5 separate regions of the Homo sapiens genome follow, and regions 1, 2, 3 and 4 are each linked to region 5. Evidence: promoter capture Hi-C in 16 types of primary human blood cells and fetal thymus (Javierre and others, 2016). All regions are on one chromosome and are shown on one strand. The core of a region is centred on a gene start or on the middle of the fragment in contact, and the rest is flanking DNA. Distances in the headings are between cores, read along the strand shown. Region 1 has its middle 16 kb from the start of PFKP-DT. Region 2 overlaps PFKP (phosphofructokinase, platelet). Region 3 overlaps PITRM1 (pitrilysin metallopeptidase 1). Region 4 overlaps PFKP (phosphofructokinase, platelet). Region 5 holds the start of IDI1 (isopentenyl-diphosphate delta isomerase 1).

Region 1 (3,525 bases), core at 2-2,501, 2.0 Mb after region 5:
GGCCAGGCCGTTTCAGGCTGTCACCACAGAAAATGCTGATGGAGCAGGAGGCTGCAGAGTGAGTCGACCTTTCTGCCCTCTATGCAGAGGCCCAGCCCTTGTGGGCGGACCTCCTGACTCCCTCTTCTTACTTAGTCTGGCTACTGTTGGCATATTAAAGTTGGTGATCATTTTGAACATGAGTGCTAAACTGAATTTTGTTAATTCTAATAATTTATCAAAGCATTTTACTATTTCTAGGAAACAGAATTACATTGTCCTCAGAATAATTTTGTCTTTCTTGTTAATAATAATAGTCCTTCAGTCTCCCTGCCTTCCCTCTGGGTGTGAGCGCATCTCTGCCAATGTGGGGCATGAGAACGGATGCCAGAGGCAGACCAAGCAGTTCAGAGGCTATAGCAGCAATTTATTTTTATTTTTATTTATTCATATACATTTTTTTGAGATGGAGTCTTACTCTGTTGCCCAGGCTGGACTGCAATGGCATGATCTCGGCTCACTGCAACCTCTGCCTCCTTGGTTCAAGAGACTCTCCTGCCTCAGCCTCTGCAGTAGCTAGGATTACAGGTGCCCACCACTGTGCCCGGCTAATTTTTTGTACTTTTAGTAGAGACGGGGCTTCACCTTGTTGGCCAGGCTGGTCTTGAATCCCTGGCTTTGGGTGATCCACCCATTTTGGACTCCTAAAGTGCTGGGATTACAGGCGTGAGCCACTGTGCCCAGCCCATTGTGGCATCTTAATCACAGAGCAAAGAAGGCCTGGACCCAGCACGAAGATGATGAAAAGGGGGAAGAGCAGCTGTCTCACCTACGGTGTTGCCAGGAGCTTCCAACTTCGAACATAAGGGACACTAAGTAGCTTTCCCAATAAAACAACTGAGTTGTTGGATAAAACCTACAAAAATACATCTTTGTAAGTGCACGACTGGGCTGGCATTGAAGGATGGAATCCACAGCAGTCAATAAAGAATTGGCAGGAACCAAAGTGGAATTTTTTTTCTGTTTAGACAGTTGCACAGAGGACAGGGCATAAGAAAGAAAACCGGACGCCTCTCCAAAATGAGGTTGGAAATCTGACATCTTAGACTTAAAATAAAAGCCCACCTTAGAGCAGGAGCAGCAAGGAGAGCACCTGTCCCTGCATTGGTGATGGGTGGAGGGAAAACCACTGACCCTGAGAACCAGTGAGAAACAGTCCTCCAGGAGTTCATGCTGGAAGACATCAAGAGCATGGGTCAAATTGACGTGGCACCAGGTGGCTGCTAGCTTCACCTCTACCCCATGTGAGCAGAAAATCCTTGCTGAAACAATGCAACTCTGTCCTCAAAATATCTCCCCACATAAAATTCCAAGGAAGATAAGTCCAGGTGCAAAAAGTTACAAAACATAAGTAAACAAAGTACTGTGGATACATCCAATAATTCAAGAAACAAATTCAGCAGAGCCACAAAAATCCAAAAGGTGGAAAAGATCAACTGCTGGCAAAGTATCCACTGCTGTTGCAGCTGTGAAGAGACTGTATTTCATAAAAAGCTCTGTGGCCTCACATTTGCCTTCTCAGGCATGTCCCCCCAGAAATGCCCTTGCACTGTCTTGTCCAAGAGACACATATGGGGCAAGAATATTTAGGCAGTGATTGTAGAAATAGAAAACACCTGAAGGCCATCCAAATACACCTCTATCAAGGAAAAAAGTTGGCATACTCACATTGTGCAATATTATACAACAGTGAAAATGAACTGCAGTTAAAAGCATCAACAATGAAAAATTACAGTGAACAAAGGAAATTACTGAAAAATACACTGCTATTCCATATACAGTACACAAACCATATGACTTTGCTTAATAATATACACAGAAATGATAAACCTTATGAAAAGCAAGACAAATATTAACACATGAGTCCTATGTATGGGTGAAGAAGGGAGACCCAGGTGATCAAGGAAGGGCATATTGTAGCCTTTCAAGACACTCGATGCTAAAGGATGATGACAACAGTGCAATTATTACTCTATAGGATTATGCATTCAGTTTTGTTCGTTTCTTTGTTTGTTTTTGAGGTGGAGTTTCGCTCATGTAGCCCAGGCTAGAGTGCAATGGCGCGATCTCAGCTCACTGCAACTTCCGCCTCCCAGGTTCAAACGACTCTCCCGCCTCAGCCTCCCGAGTAGCTGGGATCACAGGCGCCTGCCATGATGCTCGCTAACTTTTTGTATTTTTTTTAATAGAGACGGGTTTCACCATGTTGGTCAGGCTGGTCTTGAACTCCTGACCTCAGGTGATCCACCCACCTCAGCATCCCAAAGTGCTGGGATTACAGGCATGAGCCACCATGACTAGCCAAGTTTTATAGACTCTTATGTGTCATATATTTCATAATTAAACATAAAAAAAGCATTTACTGTAGTTTGTAAATGAAAGAGCAATAAAAAATGTTGCAAACTTTTAAACATAAAACCTGTCGTATAGCTCATAGTGACCCTCATATTAAGCTGTGGTAAATTCCAAGTGTATTTCATTGTAATTATCTAAAAACTAGGTGAACAGATGAAAAATTGAGTTCAGTTTTAAAACAAGATCGTAGGCCGGGTGCGGTGGCTCACACCTGTAATCCCAGCATTCTGGGAGGCCGAGGCTGAAGGATCACGAGGTCAGGAGATCAAGACCATCCTGGCTAATACAGTGAAACCCCATCTCTGCTAAAAATACAAAAAAATATTAGCCGGGCATGGTGGCAGGTGCCTGTAGTCCCAGCTACTCGGGAGGCTGAGGCAGGAGAATGGCGTGAACCCAGGAGGCGGAGCTTCCAGTGAGCCGAGATCGTACCACTGCACTCCAGCCGGGGTGACAGAGCAAGACTCCGTCTCAAAAATAAAAAATAAAAATAAAAAAATAAAATAAAAAAATAAAACAAGATAGTAAGATAATGTTACTGGTTGAAGGTGTCCAGGTTCTTGGCACCTTGAACAAAGAATTGGACACAACGCACAAATGGAGCAAGGAAAAAATGAAGCAACAGAAGCAGATATTTATGGAAAATGAAAGCACACTCCACAGGGTGGGAGGGCCCGAGCATGGAGAGACCGTTACTGAAGTTTCTGGGGTTTAAATACCCTCTAGAGGTTTCCATTGGTTACTTGGTGTACACTCTATGTAAATAAAGAGGATGAAGTAAAATTACAAAATCATGTACTCGGTGTACGCCCTGTGTAAATGGAGAGGATATTTCCTGTCATAGCCCAAGAGTTTCCATTTGATTTAGTTCTCCGAAGTCAGGGTGAATCGGCCTTATGTTCCTGCCTCCAGACCCTTTTCTCCTGCCTCCGTGGAATGGATGGCAGGACATGGAAAAGTGTTTTGTCCAAATGACATGTCCAAGGGCACTGGCAGCTGAAGGCAAGAGGGAACCAGTTAGTGCCACGGAGGAATGCCCACCCCCGTCTCCACACCGCACAGAACAAAGTGAGTGTCCTTGTCCTGAACCCTCTGAGGTGAGTATCTTGCCTCAGTGCTTTCATGAAACCC
Region 2 (3,558 bases), core at 551-3,050, 2.0 Mb after region 5:
TCGAAGCTAGACATTTTGTCATCTTTCGAAAGAAGCATGTTTTCCCCCTTGGTTACAGAAAGCTAAAAGCTTTTGATACAGGACTCCAACCTTTTATCAGGGAGAATTAGGCTCTTTAAATAATTAGGGCTCTACCAATCTGATGGGCCATCAGAAGCAATTAAAATTAGAAAGGTGAAGATACGGTAACGTAGTCAGGACAAACATCAGGATACCAGATTGCACGTTCACAATGGCATTTCGGCTAAGAAAGTGCGGGTGAATATAGAACAGAGGGCCGTATGTCAGTAATTGGGTTCCGTTTTGTGTTTCTTTTCCACAAGCCCTTTCTGGTGTTGTGTTTTTGTTTATTAGAGAGTAGCTGCCCAAAGGCTACAGTTTCCCTCCCCACTCCTCGGTTCTCTCCGTCTTCACCCCCAACTCCCAGTCCTGTGTTTGGAATTACAGTCATTGTGCTTGTCAGGATGTAAGAGGCAGCCAGACACATGGCAGACCAGAGCACTGAGAGGCAGAGACATTTATAGGTCCTAGCCCTGGTCCTGCTGTCTGGGTCAGCAGGGTGCTGAGTGCTGAGTGCTGAGATAGGGTCTTGATGTTTTCCTCTGCAGAATGGAGGCATCACTCAGTCTCTGTCTCCTCTCCCTGTCTCTGTCTTCCCTCCCCTCTTCCCTAACACATATCCACAGTGAAAGTGTTCAGGAGGAAAAGAGAATAGGCTGGACTGTGCTGGGACCCCCAACCCCAGGGCCCGTGTGCTATTTTCCCAGCCTCCGTGTGCCCAGAGATGCCTAGGGGAGCCTGCGGAGGTGTAGATCCTGACTGTGTGGGTCTGAGTGAGGCTCCGACTCTCACGGGGAGGGCACCGGTGCTGCTGGACCCCCTGGGGCCAGTGGAGCGGTTTGCAAATCGGGCAGATCAGCTTCTCCACTTCTCCAGGTTTCCCCAATGTGAGATGCTCCCAGGAGTCCCATGGGATTGTTTTCTGACTTTGACCAGGATTTTGACAGAGAAGATTCATTAATATAGGACCCCTTGTCTAAACGTACATATGTAAATGATCTGATCCGAAGTTTCCTGAATGGAAAATGATTGAAAGGGTGGCATGCAGTAGCCTCGGGGAGTCAGTCCTTCATATCTTTTCAGCTGTGTCTTACTACGATTAAGATTTTATTTCTGTGTGTGTGTGTGTTTTTTTTGTTTGTTTGTTTGTTTGTTTTTGAGACGGGATCTTGCCCTCTTGCCCAGCCTGGAGTGCAGTGGCTTGATGTCGGCTCACTGCAACCTCCGCCTCCTGAGTTCAAGCGATTTTCCTGTCCCAGCCTCCCAAGTAGCTGGGATTACAGGCATGCGCCACCATGCTCACCTGATCTTTTTTGTATCGTTAGTAGAGATGGGTTTCACCGTGTTGGTCAGGCTGGTCTCGAACTCCTGACCTCAAGTGATCCACCTGCCTTGGCCTCCCAAAGTGCTGGTATTACAGGCTGGAGCCACTGCACCCAGCCTTATTTCTGTGTTTCTGTAATCATTGTGCATGTTAACAGACTGCCTTGGGTGAGTCAGGACAGGATTTTGGCAAAAGAACCAGGCCCTTTCTGCCTGGAGCTGTCACTCCTGTGGTGAGGTGCGGGTACGACGTGCCTGTAGCCTGACCTGAGAGGAAAAGCTCCTGTCTTATGAAAGGGCCCAGGGGAACCTCTGGTTGGGGCCCTTTGACCTGACCTGACAGTGAGGGAGGAGTCCGTAGAGGAGAGTGGCCCAGTGGAGGACTTTGGCTTTGCCTTGGGTGAACTGGGAAGCAGGTGGAGGGAAGCAGACTGACTGTCTCCGATAAGGGTGGCTTTGTGGAGAGGAGAGGAGGGGAGGGGAGGCCACAAGTTTAGGGTATCACAAGGAGCAGGCCACAGATGGAAGGTTATGGGGTGGGGCACGTGGCAGGGCAGCCCTGTGTCCACAGACACATCCCGCCAAGGGGACCCAGAGACTTGAGTGTGTCAGGGCTTGGGGTGAATGGGCACTCAGCTGTTACAGCTGGAAGGTAGAGCATGTGAGCTCCAACAGACACAGGCAGGTGGGGGTTAAAGGAGAATCTTCATAGCAGTGCTTAGAATAGCAAAAAGTGGGAAAACCAGCAAAAAACTATCAATAGGAGATTAATTAATTCCATTATGGCACCTGGAATGTGCCGAGACCAGCTCAGTCGGGGAGACCGTAACCCAGCGGCGCTAGAGGAATTAAAGACACACACACACAAATAGAGGTGTGAAGTGGGAAATCCGTGGTCTCACAGCCTTCAGAGCCGAGAGCCCAGAACAGAGATTTACCCACGTGTTTATTAACAGCAAGCCAGTCATCAGCATTGTTTCTACAGATATCAAATTAACTAAAAGTATCCCTTATGGGAAATGAAGGGATGGGCCAAATTAAAGGAATAGGTTGGGCTAGTTAACTGCAGCAGGAGCATGTCCTTAAGGCACATATCTCATGCTACTGCTTGTGGCTTAAGAATGCCTTTAAGCAGTTTTCCACCCTGGGTGGGCCAGGTGCTCCTTGCCCTCATTCCCATAAACCCACAACCTTCCAGCCTGGGCGTTAGGGCCGTTATGAACGTGTCACAGTGCTGCAGAGATTTTGTTTATGGCCAGTTTTAGGGTCAGTTTATGGCCAGATTTGGGGGGGCCTGCTCCCAACAGAATGGAAGGAATTTTTGTCAGCGTTTAATAAGGAGCTTTGTGCTGGTCGAAAGTCAAGAGGTACACAGTATACTCAAGGGCAGTATTGAAGAGCCGATTCCAGAGCGGCTTCCCTCTGGAGCCAGTGGGGCAGTTTGCAAATCCAGGCAGATCAGCTTCTTGGAGGTTTCTCCAACGGGAGAATCTCCCAAGAGTGAGGCTTGCATGTGGGTGGCCTGTGTTATATATGCAATTTTAAATGATCTAGTTGCCGCATTAAAGAAAGGCGGGGCAGGGGGCCGGGAGTGGGGGACTCTGGGTGCCAAGACTCAACATCTGTAATCCCAGCCCTTCAGGAGCCCAAGGCAGGTGGATCACTTGAGCCCAGGAGTTTGAGGCCAGCCTGGGCAACATGGCAAGACCTAGTCTCTACAAAAAATACAAAACAATTAGTCAGGCGTGGCGGTGCACACCTACAGTCCCAGCCCCGTGGGAGATTGAGGTGGGAGGATTGCCTGAGCCCAGGAGTTGGAGGCCGCAGTGAGCTGTGACTGCACCAGTTCACTCCAGCCTGGGCAACAGAGTGAGACCCTATCGCAAAAAAAAAAAAAAAAAAAAGTAGTGAACCCGGGAAGCGGAGCTTGCAGTGAGCCGAGATCGCGCCACTGCAGTCCGCAGTCCGGCCTGGGCGACAGAGCGAGACTCCGTCTCAAAAAAAAAAAAAAAAAAAAAAAGTAAAAACCGGTAAAAGCAAAAAACTATGTTTTATATTCAATCCACTATTTTGATAACAATCAATTATTGTAGATTATTCATATTTTACACTGTTTTCCGTAGTAAGTCTTTGAAACCCAGTGTGTAAAGAAGCTTAAAGCACATCTCCATGTGG
Region 3 (4,069 bases), core at 263-2,762, 2.1 Mb after region 5:
CGGGAACAGATGTCACCTGAGTTAACAAGAAAAACACGACCAGTTAAACTTAGACAAAATGGCCTTTGAAATGGTTATGTTCGACACACTGAGAAAACTGGCTTTTCTGCCTGAAATTAGATGATGCCGGGAAGGCAGTATTTCAGAGCTGGAGAGAAGAGAACCATCTTGTCCAGGTCCCTTATCCTACAAACAAGGAAAGACAGACCTAAAAAAGGCAGATGAGAATATGTGTGTGTGTGTATAGAAAGAGAGAGAGAGCGAGCGAGCGAGCGAGCGCGAGAGCGCACGCGCTTACTACTGGCTAGGTATTTTAGATTTTTTTATTTTTTAAATTTTTTATTCTTTTTTTGGCTAGGCATTTTCTAATCATGTCACATATAATCCTGTGAGGGAGGTATTCTCATACTCATTTACAGACGAAAAAACCGAGGCTCAGGGTGATGAAATAAGCTGCCTAAATCACAGAGCCAGGATTCACCCTGGTGTCTGCCCTTCCCATGGTACCATGCTGCACCTAAGTAACAGAGCGCCCTTTCCAATGTCTGCTGAGTGTCTCCTGCTTTTGTGTGCTGTGCCTCAGTAACACAGCGCCCCTTCCAATGTCTGCTGAGTGTCTCCTGCTTTTGTGTGCTGCGCCTCAGTAACACAGCACCCCTTCCAACGTTGGCTGTGTGTCTGTTTCTGTGCATATCATCTCCTGTAGTGCGCAGAACGGGCCTGCAAGGAGGGGAAATGCTAGAGTGGGCTAGCCTGCGACAGCAGGGAGAGGCTCTAGGATCAGCCTTTGCTTCTCTTAGTTTAGGATGGGTTCTCGGTGGTAGCTAGAAGCACAAAGCTGTGGCTTCCAGAACAGCTGGAGGGGCCGGGAGGATAGAAATGCCCACAAGACAGACGAAAGACTCCCCACTCCTGGGGCGGCGTGGAAGGTCATCTCCTACTTTAGGTAAGCCTCCTGGTAAGTGACCATACTCCTCGGTATGAAAGAAACTGTCTTCTCTTCCAGTCATGCCAGCCGGCCCTCTCCCTCAATCACACACCACGTCCCTGTGATCACCACACCACTCACCACCCCCTCCTGCCAGGTGCCATGAGTCACCTGGCCAAGCGCACACAGTAAGTCGCTGGCCAAGGTCAGACCTCGGGTCTCCTCAGCCCAATCTAGGGAGCCTGCCACGCAACAGTCATGCATAAAGCAGACCACTATGACCTGCATCATCTACCGCCGCGAAATTACTTCTGTTTCCAAGCTCACTGTACTTTGTAACAGATGATCAATGCTTTTGAAGTCAGCAGATACAGTGAGATGTTTGCTTTCTAATAATATATAGCTTTAATAATAATAGCTTTCATGGTAGCTATTTCTCAAACAAGAATCATGACTTATCGTAAGTTTCTATGGCTGGACACAGTGGCTCACACCTATAATCCCAGCACTTTGGAAGGCCAAGGTGATATGGTTTGGCTGTGTCCCCACCCAAATCTCATCTTGAATTGTAGTTTCCATAATCCCCACATGTTGTGGGAGGGACCTGGTGGGAGGTAATTGAATCAAGAGGGCGGTTTCCTCCATGTTATTCTCGTGACAGTGAGCACGTTCTCATGAGAGCTGACGGTTTTATAAGGGGCTTCCCCCTTCACTTGATCCTCATTCTCTCCCCTGCCGCCCTGTGAAGAGATGCCTTCCACCACGATTGTGTTTCCTGAGGCCTCCCCAGCCATGCAGAACTGTGAGTCAATTAAACCTCTTCACTTTTTAGCTCATACTTTATAAATTACCCAGTCTTGGGTATTTCTTCATAGCAGTGTGAGACTAGACTAATACACAAGCAAAAGGATTGCTTGAACCCAGGAGTTTGAGACCAGTCTAGGCAACAAAGTTTCCATCTACACACACACACACACACACACACACACACACACACACACACACACACACAATTAGCCAGGCGTGGTGGCACCTTGTCCCAGCTACTTGGCAAGAGGATCGCTTGAGCCCAGGAGTTCGAGGCTGCAGTGAGCCAAGATCATACCACCACACTCCAGCCTGGGCGACAGGGTGAGTCCCAGTCTCAAAAGTAAATACGTTTCTATAAAATTTGAGAAATAAAGGAGGAGAATCTACCGCTGTGGGTGAGGCCCTTATTAACAGTAACCTGTACCATAAACCCAAGTGTCTTTGCCTGGCCTTTGCAGGATTTCACAAACGCTCCAAGTCTTTTCATGAGTCCCATGCCTGGACCTTGTCTGGCGCACCCTAGTCACTGCCCTGGCTCCCTTGCTGGAGCCCTGACCGAAGGCAGCCACGTTCTCACACCACCCTCTCCAGGAGCTCTTCCCTCTGCCCCCAGCAGCAGCAGCTCCCACTCCTCCTCCTGCCCTTGTCCTTGGCCCTCCGCGTGGCGTCCACCATGTGCCTCCGGTCACAGCCGCAGCAGTCTTTCTAGACAGTAAGCTGTTTGTCTTTCACGTTTGCTATAACATCAAGCATAGCACAAAGCCAACAGCTGGCCAAATACATGAAGCGTGTCATTTTCAGTTACCATGCTAAATAGAAACAATGCAAAAGGTTTAGGCAAAATAACAAAACAAAAACCAAATGAATCTATTTTAATACAGACCCAAGTAAGTACAGGTCCACAATTGCTTCTTTATCATTCTGAAACCCGAATGGCTCAGAAAACTGAAAGGTTCTGCGGACGTTTAGAGCAAGCTATTTGATGGCAAAACCTGACTAAACAGATCAGGGCAGTGAGTCTTCATGCTCATGCTCAGTGAAACATCAGGTTTGGCTGCAGAAACGCTAGTGTGTCTGATTACAGAGACCCAGCTGGAAGTGTTACTCTCTAAAATCTCACAAGAACCAGGCTTTGCGGGATTCCAGGAAGGGACTGGGGCTCATTTCACTCACAAGCTCTGTTCAGCCGAGTAGCTGCCACACAGCAGGAGCTGGGCCAGGGCCTTGGGACACAAGGACAAAAACGCTAGTCTCCGCCCTGAAGGGCTCCGTACATAGGCCAGAAGCCGCACCTGCAATGTATGTGGATTTATAAGGAGGTGCCGAGGACGACCCATACCTGGTTTACGGTGAATCCATGGATCTTGTCTCCTAGTTTATACTGCAGAGCCCTCTCACAAGCCCGGTTACTGTTCCATCGCCACGCTCTGTGGTGTGCATGTCTAGATTAAAAGTCATCTAAGTTAGATGAGTTGCAGGAAAAGTATCTGGCTAACATTATTCAGCCACATAGTGAAAATACTCTCATGTAATAAAGATTATTAAAGAAAAATTAAATATTGCATCTTCCAAAGTCTTGCACATTCCAGAAAACTGATTTCTGGTAAGGTCCTTTCCATTTTAATGATCTTTATCTTAACTAAAGCTTCAATGTTGGAAACCTTTTCTTTACACTTGTTCACAAATAACTATAATACAATTACAGTTTAAATTCCCCTTGTTTAAGAGACAACTCTTAAACAAAAGGGCTTCTTTCCTTCACAGAATCCTCAAAAGCCTTCACAGTATACCAAGAAATTCACACTACAGTTAAATCCCATTACATGCCTACCGAATTGCTGAAAACTTAAAAAGCCTAATATTACCGGGAACTCTCATACACTGCTACAGGGAGTACAAAGTGGAATAACTTTGGAAAAGCACTTGGCATTCTTTAGAAAGGCTGAAGAGGCCGGGCGTGGTGGCTTACGTCTGTAATCCCAGCACTTTGGGAGGCCTGGGTGGGCGGATCACCTGAGGTCAGGAGTTCGAGACCAGCCTGGCCAAAAATTAGCCTGATGTGGTGGCAGGTGCCTGTAGTCCCAGATACTTGGGAGGCTGAGGCAGGAGAATCGCTTGAACCCGGGAAGTGGAGGCTGCAGTGGGCCGAGATCACGCCACTGCACTCCAGCCTGGGTGACAGAGCAAGACTGTCGGAAAAAAAAGAAAAAAATGCTGAAGATTGGAAATCCATTCACCTCTTGGTCTCTATCGTCCACACCTTACACTGCGGCCCCAGCACTCACAGACAAAAATGTCAGCACGAACCCTGACAGTCCCAAACTCAACTCA
Region 4 (3,977 bases), core at 1,444-3,943, 2.0 Mb after region 5:
CATGGTATTCCATGGTGTATATGTGCCACATTTTCTTAATCCAGTCTATCACTGATGGGCATTTGGGGTGGTTCCAAGTCTTTAATTCTAAGATAGAAAACACACTAAAATCTGTGAGTGTTTTCCTAACTGGGCAGCAAAGCCCCGGCTGACCTGGAGCGCGTTGCCTGGGGGTGATCCCGTCACCCAGCCGAGGTGACGGCTCCCACCTCTCTTTGCAGGGGTGGGTTTGATGCCGTGCACTCCCAAGGGCCCAGAGTATGGGTGCAGTAACACTCACTGCTTTTTAAAACATTTTTTATTTTTAATTATTATGGATACATAATAGTTGTACCTATTTATGGGGTACATGTGATTTTTTTAAAATTTATTTTATTGAAGTAAAATATGCATATATCATTTACCATCTTTACTATTTGTGGGCATAGAGTTCAGAAATATAGTCTTCTTCCCTTTTATCCTTGCTTTTCCCCACCCCTCCCCTTCCATACCTCTGATAATTGCAGTTCTCGTCTCTATGAGATCAACTCTGTTAGCTCCCACGTATGAGTGAGAACAGGCAATGTTTCTCTTTTTATGCCTGGCTTATTTCTTATTTCTTTTTCCATACAGAGTTTTGCTCTGTTGCCCAGGCTGGAGTGCAATGGCCCAGTCTTCGCTCACTGCAACCTCTGCCTCCCGGGTTCAAGCGATTCTCCTGCCTCAGCCTCCTGAGTAGCTGGGATTACAGGCACCCACCACCACGCCTGGCTAAATTTTTTTATTTTTAGTAGAGATGGGGTTTCACCATGTTGGCCAGGCTGGTCTCAAACTCCTGACCTCAGGTGATCCTGCCCTCCTGGGCCTCCCAAAGTGCCGGGATTACAAGCATGAACCACCACGCCCATATGCCTGGCTTATTTCACTTAACAGTAAAGCACTTTCATCCCCATTGCCACAAATGATGGGGTTTTCTCCTTTATGGGTGAACGGTGTTGTGTTGTGGGCGTGCACCACGTTTTCTTTGTCCATTTATCCGCTGACGGGCGCTGATTCCACACTGGGCTGTTGTGATGGGGAGTGAATGTAGGAGTGCGGAGGTCTCTTTCTGCCGATTCCCTTTCTCGGGGTATATGCCCAGCAGTGGGGCTGCTGGCTTGTGGGGGAGTTCTATGCATGTCATAGTCTCATACAAGCATGCAATGCATCATGATAAAATCAGGGTAAGTAGCATATCCATCACCTCAAGAACAATCATCTCTTTGTGTTAGGAACACTCCAATTTTACTCTTTTAGTTATTTTGAAATATTATTTTGAATATATATTATGTATATATTATTATACATTATGTATAATATGAATTATATATGTATTATACATATCGTATACAATGTTATACATTATGTATAACATTATTATATATTATTAAACATTATTATACATTATTAACTGTAGTCGCTCCATAGTATCACTCATCCCTGGATTTTATTCCTTCTATCTCAAACTGTTTTTTACCCATTAACCATCCTTCTTTACACCCCTGCTTCCTTCTACTTTTCCCAGCCTCTGGTAACCATCATTCTGTTCTCTGTCTCCACGAGATCAATCCTAACTCTGTCTTCATGAGATCAATTTTTTATTTAAGCTTAAATGTATGAGTAAGAGATTGCAGTATTTGTCTTTCTGTGCCTGGCTTATTTCACCTAATTTCTGCCTGTTCCATCCATGTTGCTCAGAATGACAGGATTCATTCTTTTTTATTGGCTGAATAATATTCCATTGTGTATCAAGATGTGGAATCAGTCTAAGTGGCCATCAGTGGGTGCGTGGATAAAATGTGGCGTATATACGCAATGGAATATTTTTAAGCCATTAGAAAACCTGCTTTTTAAAATCCCAAGTCTTCTGAGTCCTGGCCTGCCTCTCAGACCTGGGTTTTGGGTGAGCCATCGTGGGCCTGCAGGACGTACTGCAGTGACTGTGGATGCATAAATCAACCTTTCATTTCTGTGTGCTCATCTGTGCAGTAGAAATGGTGTTTGCCCTCCTGTCTCCCTGGTAGAAAGGACTTGGAAAAGTCTGAGACTAACGGGGCAGAGGAGCTGTTTGACTGCTTTTCAGGGATGAGACGCGCATGCCTTTGACTCCATGGGTGTGTGGCCAGGTAGGGAAACGGGGTCTGCACCTGAACACATCTATTCACAGATGGCTCTGCACTGAAGAGGCTCAGCCCCCTCCCCGGCCTGGTCTCTGCGTCATACCCACAGGCTGGGCTTCTCTCTGAGTGTCAGGGCGATGGCATCTGGGGTGGGCAATTCTTGGTGGGCGGTCCTTTGACTCTCAGGATGCGGAGCAGCACCCCTGTGTCCACCTACCCCATAGTCATGACAGTCAAAGATGTCCTTACAGTATCTCCAACATCGGCGAACGTCCTATGGGGGGAAAATCACTCTTTTGGGGGACCGCTGTTCTAGACCTATTTGGGCTCAAATTGAGGGGATATTATGTTTTATTTTTTTAAGGATGACTCAGTAATTTATCCAACAGATTTTTTTCACCTATACTCTAGTTTCTAACCTAGAGCTCTCTGGGTTACCAACAGACCAGGACAGTTAAACAGGTTACTATTAATTAAAGGGGTTTGTTTTTTCCTTCAGTAGTGCATGTGTGAAGAAAGTATTAACCTGGGAACAGTGGCGTTTCTGCTGAAAGCCTGGCCTTCATCGAGGGACCTCTGCTGTCTGGCCGCTGCTTGAGCTCCTATAAACCTGGGCCAAGCCTACGTGTGAAGCATGCCAAGCCTTGGGCTGCATTCCAGGGAGACTCGGGGAGGGTTTGCCAGTTAACCCATTCCTTTCTACCTGGTGAACCAATTGTTGCTTCTTTCTTTTTTCTCTTAAGCTAAGGTTTTTCCTTAGAAGCCTACAAATGGCTTTAGCTTCTTGGAGATGATGATACTAAGTATATCAGATGCTTTGACCCAAAGGCCATGCCCAGGGTAAACTACCCTGGCTCTGGTGGGTCCAAACCAAGCTGGGGCGAGTCAGTTGGTTAATCCAGGGCTGCCACTGTGTCTGCAGGAAACAGTCGGCTCCTTGCATTTGGTTTCATTCATGAATTTCATATCCTGTTGTTGAATATTCTTCTGCAGATTTCAGAAATTGTTCATATTATTATAGCTCTTCAAATATGACTCACTTAAGATTCTTGCCGAGCACCGTGGCTCATACTTGTAGTCCCAGTACTTTGGGAGGCTGAGGCGGATGGATCCTTTGAGGTCAGGAGTTAAAGACCAGCGCGGCCAACATGACGAAACTCCGTCTCTACTAAGAACACAACAGGTAGCTGGGCGTGGTGTAATCCTTGGAAGGCTGAGGCTTGAACTCAGGAGGTGGAGGTTGCAGTGAACCTAGATTGCGCCACTGCATTCCAGCCTGGGTGACAGAGCGAGACTGTGTCAAAAAAGAAAAAGAAAAAAGTCTTTTATCTTAATTTTTTGTTTGTTTTAAAGTTTGGTTCTGCTCTAGACAGCTGTTTGTAAACAATATCAGAGCTGTCTTTGTCATAGTCCACACCCTAAAGAAAGGCTAGGAATAATTCTGATCATTTTATCGCTAGTTTTTTCCATGATTAAAAATAACACATTCAAAAGGTGTCAGATAAGTGATGCCTTTTTATGTTGAAAGGATAAAGGGTGTTGGTACAGCATCAGCATCCAGCCTCTGGTCTTCCCAGATGTGCTGCCATGGAGCCTGTGCCACCTGACCCCCGCCACCGGCCCCCAAGCTTAGCTCAGGTGCCCGAGGGTCTCCATCTCCCCATGGCCCCCGGTCAGCAGCCCTGTCCCTGCACCCAGACTGGCCAACCCTTCTGAGCTTGAAATATCAGCATGTGATCTTAGCTTCCCTTGTTTCAGCCCTGAGCATTACAGCTTGACTTACTATACCAATAAACAAACCATTAACTTATCAATGAATTGATTGGCATCATGCTTCCC
Region 5 (3,899 bases), core at 628-3,127:
GCTGCTCCACTGTCTACACCACACAGCCCAGCTGCTCCACTGTCTACACCACACAGCCCAGCTGCTCCACTGTCTACACCACACAGCCCAGCTGCTCCACTGTCTACACCACACAGCCCAGCTGCTCCACTGTCTACACCACACAGCCCAGCTGCTCCACTGTCTACACCACACAGCCCAGCTGCTCCACTGTCTACACCACACAGCCCAGCTGCTCCACTGTCTACACCACACAGCCCAGCTGCTCCACTGTCTACTGTCTACACCACACAGCCCAGCTGCTCCACTGTCTACACCACACAGCCCAGCTGCTCCACTGTCTGGTCCTTTGTCTACACCACACAGCCCAGCTGCTCCACTGTCTACACCACACAGCCCAGCTGCTCCACCGTCTGTCTACACCACACAGCCCAGCTGCTCCACTGTCTAGGTCTGCGTCAGCGCACTCTGCTTCCACAATGATGAAAGTACCTAACAATGAACTTCTCCAAAGTATCCCTGTTAAGTGATGCGGGCCGAACGTTAAATTATCATCTGTAGATGATCTCTTATAGTATCTAAAACATGTAAATCCTACATAAATAGTTGTGCTGTATTGTTTACAGAATAAGTCTGTATATGTTCAGTACAGATGAAATTTTTTTCCAAATATTTTATAATGTGCAGTTGGTTAAATCCATGGATATGGACCCCAAGGATACAGTAGGCCAACTGTATATTAGGTGATCACTAAGATAGGTTTCGTTACTACATAATTACTAGACTTTTTGACATGACTTTTTTTCCGGGGGGATGGGGCTGGGTCTTGCTATGTCTGTCGCCCAAGCTGGAGTGCAGTGGCGCGATCTCGGCTCACTGCAGCCTTCGACTCCGCCTCCCAAAGTGCTGGGATTAAAGGCGTGCACCACCGCCCAGCTGTAATGACAATTGCTCTTTCAGGATTTTCAGAATTCAGATTTTAAAGCTAAGCTGCATAATCACAAGATAAAATGAATACGTCTATTTATGCGTTTAAAGAATACCATGTAGTAGACGCGGGAACACATCATCCAACCCAAGAAAAAGGTCTAGTTCCATCTATGCGATGCTCCCCATCTCTTCTCCTGCTCCATTCCCAGGAGAAGCGCCTTGAGTGTGTTGCTGTCACCCTCTTGCACGGACGCAGGTGTATGCACCCGCGTCACACGCGTGGACTCGGCACGGGGAGGCCGGTGTCGTCACGCTCGTGTTTCTGACGATGCTGTCTACGCTTGTTTCTGAATTCTCTAAGGGGAGACTCGCAACTCTTAGTCTCCTGCGACTCGGTTTCCAGTTCCACGAGTTCCTAAACCTCAGGTGACTGTGCGCAGACGACGATCTTTTCCGCTGACAAAGAATGGCAACGTCTCTGACGCCCCGACTCACGCCTCCGCCTTCCACGGGGCGCGGGCGCCCACCACAGCCCGGGAAGGCCCGGCCTCCCTCCAGTTCGGGAGACCAACGCCGCCACCCCCAGCTGTCCAGGCCTCCGCGCCGAGACCTCACGGGTGGCTCAGACCTCGGGCCTCCTCCCCGCCCCGTCCCGCAGCTCCCCGATGCCGCCCTGCCCCTGTCTCCCGAACTCCGCCGCCCGTCCACAGTACCTGATCAGCCTCCGGCCACAGACAACCGCCGGTCCCGGATGGCGCCCGCTTTGAGCACAGTCTGCGGCGCGCACCGCCCACTGGCCCCGCCCCCGGGCCGCGCAGCCAATCGCTCGCGCCAGCGCCAGTCCACGCCACATCGCCCGGCCAATTGGCGCCCGTACGCGCTTGACGACACAATCTCGCCAAGCTTCGCCTGGTGGTGCCACCTCCCTGGCCTGTGACAACGGCAGACGCGCGAAGCACCGGGAACCTGAGCCGTGACCGCGGGCTCTGGCGCCTTTAAGGGGGTCAACACGCCCCACCCCCAGTTCCGCAGAGGCAGCGTCCCGCGACTGGGCGGTGCCCGAGACCACAGACGCCGCCAGCCAATCACGCTTTCGATCCTGCCGTGCGAGCCCGAGGCGCTGCGAACGGTGCCTAACGTCAGACGTCTCGAGGCTCGCGTTCCATGGAGGAAGCCCTCCCAATCCGAAAGCGCCCGGGCGCCAAGCCCTGCAGCCGGAAGCTCGGCGTCCCATGGGAGCGACCTCCGCATGGCTGGACCAATGGAAACGGAGGAAAGGCGGGACGTCACTGCTGACTGGCTGGTTGGGCACTCCCCCCCCTCCCCCCCCCCGAGTTCCGCCGCTGGGACTACAGCGTTTGGCTGCACGGGGAGTTCTCGTATGTCTAGAACGATGGCCTTTCTGCGGTGTCTGCGACCGGGACCAAGGCGGAGCAAAGTCGCCGGGGGTGTGGGGTGTTCCACGCTATGTTGGGAGTGTTCGCTTTCGAGGTACATGACTACGTTCTAAATTTTTTTTTTTTGAGACAGTTTCATTCTTGTTGCCCAGGCTTGAGTGCAATGGTGCAGTCTCCGCTCACAGCAACCTCCGCCGCCCGGGTTCAGGCAATTGTCCCGTCTCAGCCTCCCAAGTAGCTGGAATTACAGGCATGCGCCACCACGCCCGGCTTATTTCGTATTTTTAGTAGAGACGGGTTTCCGCATGTTGGTCAGGCTGGTCTGGAACTCCTGACCTCAAGTGATCCACCTGGCTCAGCTTACCGAAGTGCTGAGATTCCGGGTGTGAGCCACCGCGCCTAGCCCTCTAAACTTTTAAATAATCGTGAAATGTATGCGCAGCTGAAGCGAATTCAGCTATTTCCTCTACCTTTTGTGTGGAATTTAAAATACTGAACTTGTGAGATGAACCTGGTGGGCACCAGTTCTCAAACTTCTTGGTCACAGGACGCTTGCACTCTCTTAAAATGTACTGAGGACACCTAAAAGCTTTTGCTCACTGTTGTTTACTACTGCTATTTACTAACATAGAAATTAAACATATTAAAATATTCACTTAAAAAACACACGACACTAACATAAGTTATATTTTTATTAAAAATCTTTTCCAGACAAAAAACAGACTTTGATTTTGTTTTATGTGTTGACAGATCTCTTTCATGTCTGGCTTCACACAGATAAGAAAATCTGGCCTCCCGCATGCGCAGCAAGTCCTCACTGCTGTCAGTGCGTTCTTGGGAATCAGGACTTTTAAGTGAAACAACGTATAGCAAAACCAATTTTACCAGAGGCTAAAAAATAAGGATTAAGTTCCTAAAGCATACTTCTGGCCAAGGAAAAAAAAAATCACTAAGCTTCTAAAGGCCAAAGTATTCTAATATTAAACATTGAAATAAATGTGAGCTATACATACATTTAAGAAAGATGAATAAAAAGATAATTATTACTTAATTATTCCAGTTCTGGGTCATGTGTAGCTGAAGCCTGTTTCAGTAGCTCAGGGCACAAAGAGGGAACCAGCCCTGGACAGGACGCCATTCCATCACAGGGCCACTCACACACCCACACTCAGACTGGGACAGTGAAGACACACCAGTTCACCTCACGTGCACACCTCTGGGATGTGGCAAGAACTGCAGCACCCAGAGAAAACCTATGCAGGTGTGGCGAGAACACGTAAACACCACAAAGACAGTGCCCCTGGCTGGGAGTCTTTTTCTCATCAATGTTACAAAGAAATGAATGAGCACCTGCTGTATGCAGTTTGAAAATTGAGAAGTATTTTTTAATAGCCTTTTCAAATTATCTTGGTTATTCTTTTTCGATACTACTACCCCAAAACACGAGTGGTGGATTTTCCAATTACTATTTGGAATTTGAAACCACTTCAATGGACATTTTGTACTTGTTACATTAAAACTCATTATTTTTGACTGTACCTCGAATGCCTATTTTCCTGTGCGTGATGTTGAAATGTCATGCATTGGTCATTT

Evidence for each region. Contacts are between HindIII fragments. The CHiCAGO score rates a contact against its expected background, and 5 or more counts as called.
Region 1: a fragment that was not itself captured here is called in contact with the fragment with the promoter of IDI1 in region 5 in 1 of 17 cell types (endothelial precursors); the score reaches 7.5 in endothelial precursors.
Region 2: a fragment that was not itself captured here is called in contact with the fragment with the promoter of IDI1 in region 5 in 1 of 17 cell types (endothelial precursors); the score reaches 5.5 in endothelial precursors.
Region 3: a contact is called between a fragment that was not itself captured here and the fragment with the promoter of IDI1 in region 5, in 1 of 17 cell types (fetal thymus). The highest score is 5.1, in fetal thymus.
Region 4: a fragment that was not itself captured here is called in contact with the fragment with the promoter of IDI1 in region 5 in 1 of 17 cell types (endothelial precursors); the score reaches 5.6 in endothelial precursors.

What each region holds. Positions count from the first base shown.
Region 1 is chr10:3,048,827-3,052,351 of GRCh38, forward strand. No RefSeq gene overlaps it. Among named protein-coding and RNA genes, the nearest start is that of PFKP-DT, 16 kb to the right of the region's middle. The HindIII fragment of the contact is 6,297 bases long and covers 1-3,525 here.
Region 2 is chr10:3,072,638-3,076,195 of GRCh38, forward strand. The region is part of intron 1 of PFKP (phosphofructokinase, platelet); the gene reads left to right. Among named protein-coding and RNA genes, the nearest start is that of PFKP, 6.9 kb to the left of the region's middle. RefSeq lists enhancers at 812-1,313, 3,520-3,558. The HindIII fragment of the contact is 3,467 bases long and covers 68-3,534 here.
Region 3 is chr10:3,167,027-3,171,095 of GRCh38, forward strand. It overlaps PITRM1 (pitrilysin metallopeptidase 1), which reads right to left. Exons shown (of 27, transcript NM_014889.4): 2 at 3,078-3,180; 3 at 1-16. Among named protein-coding and RNA genes, the nearest start is that of PITRM1, 3.7 kb to the right of the region's middle. RefSeq lists an enhancer at 2,372-2,421. The HindIII fragment of the contact is 3,737 bases long and covers 1-3,381 here.
Region 4 is chr10:3,088,345-3,092,321 of GRCh38, forward strand. All of the region lies in intron 2 of PFKP (phosphofructokinase, platelet), which reads left to right. Among named protein-coding and RNA genes, the nearest start is that of PFKP, 23 kb to the left of the region's middle. RefSeq lists enhancers at 2,327-3,526, 3,007-3,206. The HindIII fragment of the contact is 2,141 bases long and covers 1,624-3,764 here.
Region 5 is chr10:1,047,242-1,051,140 of GRCh38, forward strand. IDI1 (isopentenyl-diphosphate delta isomerase 1) reads right to left here and starts at 1,878. Exons shown (of 5, transcript NM_004508.4): 1 at 1,623-1,878. The coding sequence starts at 1,762. RefSeq lists enhancers at 1,125-1,655, 1,656-2,185, 1,877-1,926, 2,186-2,715, 2,387-2,526 and silencers at 1,467-1,556, 1,567-1,786. The HindIII fragment of the contact is 1,083 bases long and covers 1,811-2,893 here.